Linked DNA regions of Homo sapiens: region 1 is linked to region 2. Evidence: promoter capture Hi-C in 16 types of primary human blood cells and fetal thymus (Javierre and others, 2016). All regions are on one chromosome and are shown on one strand. Each heading gives the region's core, a stretch centred on a gene start or on the middle of the fragment in contact. The rest is flanking DNA. Distances are from core to core; before and after follow the strand shown.

The links. Contacts are between HindIII fragments. The CHiCAGO score rates a contact against its expected background, and 5 or more counts as called.
Region 1: a fragment that was not itself captured here is called in contact with the fragment with the promoter of SNHG25 in region 2 in 3 of 17 cell types (non-activated CD4 T cells, total CD8 T cells and naive B cells); the score reaches 6.6 in non-activated CD4 T cells.

The regions. Positions count from the first base shown.
Region 1 is chr17:63,619,150-63,622,028 of GRCh38, forward strand. No RefSeq gene overlaps it. Among named protein-coding and RNA genes, the nearest start is that of MAP3K3, 1.8 kb to the right of the region's middle. RefSeq lists a silencer at 2,509-2,578. The HindIII fragment of the contact is 210 bases long and covers 1,288-1,497 here.
Region 2 is chr17:64,144,582-64,147,297 of GRCh38, forward strand. SNHG25 (small nucleolar RNA host gene 25) reads left to right here and starts at 1,389. Exons shown (of 2, transcript NR_132278.1): 1 at 1,389-1,419; 2 at 1,649-1,728. SNORD104 (small nucleolar RNA, C/D box 104) reads left to right here and starts at 1,497; the gene lies at 1,497-1,576. SNORA50C (small nucleolar RNA, H/ACA box 50C) reads left to right here and starts at 1,758; the gene lies at 1,758-1,890. TEX2 (testis expressed 2) reads right to left here. Exons shown (of 12, transcript NM_001288732.2): 12 at 2,646-2,716. RefSeq lists enhancers at 1,076-1,630, 1,608-1,817. The HindIII fragment of the contact is 1,672 bases long and covers 641-2,312 here.

The sequences.
Region 1 (2,879 bases), core at 143-2,642, 530 kb before region 2:
TAGAGATGGGGTTTCACCATATTGGCCAAGCTGGTTTCGAACTCCTGACCTCAGGTGATCCACCTGCCCTGGCCTCCCAAAGCGCTGGGATTACAGGTGTGAGCCACTGCGTCCGACCTGATTCAGATACATTTTGAAGTGGGAGCTGAAAAGATTTGCTGCATGTTTGGATATATGGGTGTCAGGGAGAGAGAATAATCAAGGAACACTCCTAGGTTTGTACAGAGGGTCTCTGACTTACTATGGTTCGGCTTATACCTTTTTTTTTTTTTTTTTTTTTTGAGATGGAGTTTTGCTTTTGTTGCCCAGGCTGGAGTGCAATGGCATGATCTTGGCTCACTGCAACCTCTGTCTCCCGGATTCAAGCAATTGTCCTGCCTCAGCCTCCCAAGTAGCTGGGATTACAGGTGTGCGCTACCACGCCCAGCTAATTTTTTATTTTTAGTAGAGATAGGGTTTTACCATGTTGGTCAGGCTGGTCTCGAACTCCTGACCTCAAGTGATCCACCCGCCTCAGCCTCCCAAAGTGCTGGGATTACAGGTGTGAGCCACTGTGCCCCGGCCTCAGCTTATGATTTTTGGCGTTATGATGGTTCAAAAGCAACACACAATTCAGTAGAAACTGTGCTTTGAGTACAACCATTCTGTTTTTCATTTTCAGTACAGTATTTGGTAAATTACATGAGCTATTCAAAACTTTCTTATAAAATAGGCTTTGTGTTAGATAATTTTGTCCAACTGTAGGCTAACTTAAGTGTTCGAGCACGCTTAAGATAGGCTTGGCTAAGCTATGATGTTCAGTAGGTCAGGTGTATTAAATGCATTTTCTACTTAACGATTGTTCATCTGATGGTTTATCTGGACATGGCCCCATGGTAAGTCGAGCAGCATCTGTGCTTTAGCAATTGGGAAAACAGAAAGGAGCATGGCAGCTCACACCTGTAATTCCAGCAATTTGGGAAGTTGAGGTGGGAGGATTGCTTGAGCCCAGGAGTTTGAGACCAGTTTGGGCAAAATGGTGGGACACCCCCAACTCTACAGAAAATTTTTTTTACAAAGGCTCTACTCTACCTGACAAAATCTTATTCCTTAGTATTTAATTTCTCTTCTTAGGGAGAATTTAAATTTAATTAAGTAATTTAAATTAAAATTTTTTCCTGGCAGGGGTGGATAATGAAAAAAAGGTTGAGAAACACTGGCCTAGTGCAAGAACATGGCCTTTGGGAGTCACACAGGCTTGGTATGAATCCTGGCTCCACTACTTGGACACAGTGCTTAACCTCTCTAAGCTTCACTTTCATCATTTAAATGCCCACAGTATTAGCATAATAACCTTAGAGTTATTGGAAAAATTAAATGCAATGACGTGCCTGTTATATTGATAAATACTAATTTTCTTTCCCCTTTATCCCCGCTTTCAAGAATAGAGATTATTATAGTTAAGGAACTCCAGTAAACTGGGTAGAGACCAAATCAAGTGGGAATATGGCAGGCTTAAGCTTGTTGGAAGAAAAAGAAAACAGGACAAGGGGGCTGATTAAATATACGGAGATGAGTGTAAAGAAATAAGGGAGGCTGCTTGCAGTGGCTCACGCCTGTAATCCCAGCACTTTGGGAGGCCGAGGCTGGCGGATCACCTGAGGTCTGGAGTTCGAGACCAGCCTGGACAACATGGCGAAACCCCGTCTCTACTAAAAATTCAAAAATTAGCCGGGCGTGGTGGCGCACGCCTGTTAATCCCAGCTACTTGAGAGGCTGAAGCAGGAGAATTGCTTGAACACGGGAGACGGAGGTTGCAGTGAGCCGAGATCGCGCCACTGCACTCCAGCCTGGACGACAGTGTGAGACTCCATCTCGAAAAATAAAAAAGAAAAAGAAAAGAAATAGGGGAGAGCCCAAGGTAATTCTTAAGGGATTTGACACTCAAGGCAAAGCCACCACTAAATGTTCTTAGTGGACAGTGGACAATGACATCTGAGGAAGATTATTCTGGAGCCTGACATATTACACTGGAACAGAGGCCGGAGAAAGGAGCCCACATTAATTGTGGTGGACTTGGAATCTGAAGATCTGAGTGTATAAAATGTTGAACAATGAAAAGGTTGGGGAAATTAATTATGGTGCCTTTAATTTTGAAACATCATGCAATCAGTACAATTGTTTTGGAAGGATATTTGGTGGCACGGGAAAACAGAATAAAATGTAAGCATACTACAAAACAATACAAAGCCATTTTTGTCAAACGCCTATCTAGGTAGGAAATAGATTATCTCTGGGGTGGGATCTTTTCTTTTTCATAGTTTTCTGCATTTTTCAATTTTCCTACAAAAAGCTCGTGTTGCTTTTATAAGAAAAAAGTTATTTTCTGAAAGAACCTCTGGCGGAACTCAGATTTCCAGGGACCCACATGCCAGCACTATCCCAGCCTCGGGTGTCTGAGGTACCTAGACCAGAGGGTGTGGCCCTGGAGGTGTGAGACAGGGAAAGCTGGGCTGGGCCGGCCGCCCCTGCCCGGGGCAAGAGCAGCGTCGGGACCGGAGGACCAGTCGGGGGATGGGGCCGCAGAGGTGGCCGCGCGCCGGGAAGTGCTCAGGCCAGACCCTCCCCACTCGTTACACGCCCTGTGCTGGGCACGGGGAGGAGCAGGACGCCACCCTCTGGAACCACCCAGATCGCTGGGGCCTCCGAGAACCCGGAGGGCGGAAGGCCTGAGGGCCCCCTGCAGCCGCCTACTCCTCACCCCAGCCCTAAAGTAGCCGGCGGGGAACTGCGCCAGCCCGCGCGCCCGCCGAGCCTTCGGTGACTGACGGGAGGTGGGAATGTGGGCGGAGCCTCACGCCGGAGCTGTGATTGGAACAACCAACACCTCCCAATCTCTC
Region 2 (2,716 bases), core at 139-2,638:
AAATAGAGACTACTAAACACTTGTCAAAGTCATTATTGCTTTGGATTAAAGAGGTTTTTTTTTTTTTTTTTGAGATGGAGTCTCGCTCTGTTGCTCAGGTTAGAGTGTAATGGCGCGATCTCAGCTCATTGCAACCTCCGCCTCCCGGGTTCAAGCGATTCTCCTGCCTCAACCTCCTGAGTAGCTGGGATTACAGGGGCCTGCCACCACGCCCGGCTAATTTTTGTATTTTTAGTAGAGACAGGGTTTCGCCATGTTGGCCAGGCTGTTCTTGAACTCCTGACCTGATCCATCCGCCTCCGTCTCCCAGAGTGCTGGGATTACAGGCGTGAGCCACCGCGCCCGGCCAAAGAGGAATTTTTTGAATTTAAAGTCTATATAGAAAATAAGGAAAATAAGAGCCCATTCAACTACAAACCCATAGGGTGAAATGATTTCACTGTCACATACACACACACACACAAAACAATAAATTTTCCGTATTAAGAGGAAAAAAAGGAAAAGAATTCCCAAGGAAAACAGGGAGGCAATAAAGATAACCGGCGACTGTGACTGCTGGTGTACTGTGTCCTCCCCCAGTTAAGCAAACTATCATTCATCCACCTGTATGTCCGGGGAACAGGCTCAATCAACTCTGCGAAGCTTTCCCAAAGTCAGGCTTTCTGTCCTTTGGGCTTCTACAGTAGGCTGTTCATAGCGCTATGTTAGTATTTATTAAAGTTTTGCAATCCCAGGAAGTTTTTCACATCACTCTGCCCTTTAAATACCTTTGTTTACCACTTAGAATGTGCCAGGCAATTGGCATTAATTCACCGAATCCTTACAATTTTTTTTTTTCGCGGTGTGTGTGTGTTGGGGGGGGGCGGCGGGGGGGTATTCCTAATTTCCAGAAACTGAATCTCAGAAAGGTTAACTGAGCAAGGTCACAGAGCGAACGCATCACAAAGTCAGGATGTGGTGCAGATCGGTCCATTTTCAATACAAGCTCTTTCTACCACGACAGGTTATTTTGCACTTGGGGACAGTTTTTAACTTTCCATTCTCAACTCCTATCCTAGCTCCTGGCACAGAACATGTCATCCAAGTTAGGCATCATCGTCGCCTGCTCTTGGTGAAGTTTTCTTTTGCGTACTGCGGAGAGATGCGCTCATTACCAGCTGGCGGTGGAGTCGCTGAAACGCAAATGGATTTGAGACTGAGCGACTCCCATCTCTATGGTTGGTATGTGACCCATCTATCCTCTGGAGGACTCAGCAAGGACTACCAGTCACCAGACAACTTTACGCGCACGTGGTCGCAAGGTGAACTTGCTATTGGTTAATGGCAGTAAAGCCCGCCCATCAGCGCTGGTCTGCTCCTTTAAAAGAACGCCATCGACGCTCCCCTGTCTTTCAGCGCCTGCAGGTTCCGGGAGGTCAGGTTGTATTCCTGGCGGGTCGTCTGGCTGGGTGGGCCCCGGAGGTCGTGGCTCGGGAGCAGGGAGGCGTAGGGGGGCCGGCCTGCTGTGATGACATTCCAATTAAAGCACGTGTTAGACTGCTGACGCGGGTGATGCGAACTGGAGTCTGAGCCTGCCCGAGCGGAGCTGGGAGGGGGCTGGCGGGCGGGCGCGCGCACACCCGCTGATCTATCACTCTCGTTCTTGTAGCTCCCAGCCGAGGACGTCGGATGTCATCGTCCTTGCTGCTTTGCCACCCCATTCCCGTCAATAAAGTGGTTTGAACCCAACCCTGGTGTCGGTGTGTGTCGTTGGCGACGCGCTGTCTTTGAGCCCCCGCCGAGCTTCCTCGTGGCGCCGGGGGTCAATCTGCAGCGCTAGAGCATGTGCTTGCGCATAACTGGGGCCGCCTGGCCTCCCGCGGGCGGCCTTTTTAACCGCGAGCGACAAGAAGTAACCTGACTGTCCGGCTGCTAGGCTGGGCAATTTTCCAGCTGTTTTGCCACGACAGGCCTCAATCCGTAATACCAAGGCTGGAATGGCGTGTTAGGGGGGCGGTGGCTGACGGGGATACGCGGACTCTTGATGCGTAAGGAGTGCCCCTCTGCTCCCATACGTTCCCCAGCCCAGCCTTCCCTGAGTGTATCGCGCGCGCTGTGCCTTCGCCGTGAGTTCGACATAAGTCCCAGGCTGTCGCGTCTGCCATCAGACGCGCAGATTTAGTTGAAGGCAGCGTGGAATGGCGTCTGCAGGGCTGTTGTGTACTTGACATAAACAGATTCGGTGTGGAACTGCATTGAGTTAACTCCTGACTAAAGGGTAATCGACCTGTTTACAAATAACCATGCAGGAGTACTGACAAGCATGGGACTAAAGCTTTGGGCAGGTTAATCTGTCACTCCTAAACAGTTCAAAATTATAGGGCGGTTGTGAAGGTGAATTAGATTTTATATATGGTTGGGGACAACATAGACACCTAGTTACACAGTCCAGATTCAGTGATTGGTAAAAGATCTTCCACAAGGGCTCCAGTGAAAGGTGCATCAGTTCTGAGTACAGGGCAGCAATGGTGGGCAAGGATGCACGTATGCGTTCACTACATGGACATTCGATGAATGAAGGTGTCCCGAATTAACATTATACTAGACAATGAAGGGTGTAAACTGCAGCCCAGGAGCACCACTGCCCTACCCCCTCAGTTACGAACTTTCACTGGATTCTTTAAATGTGGGCTGAAGATAATGGCACATAGTTTGAAGGATGTAGTGAGGATGGCTT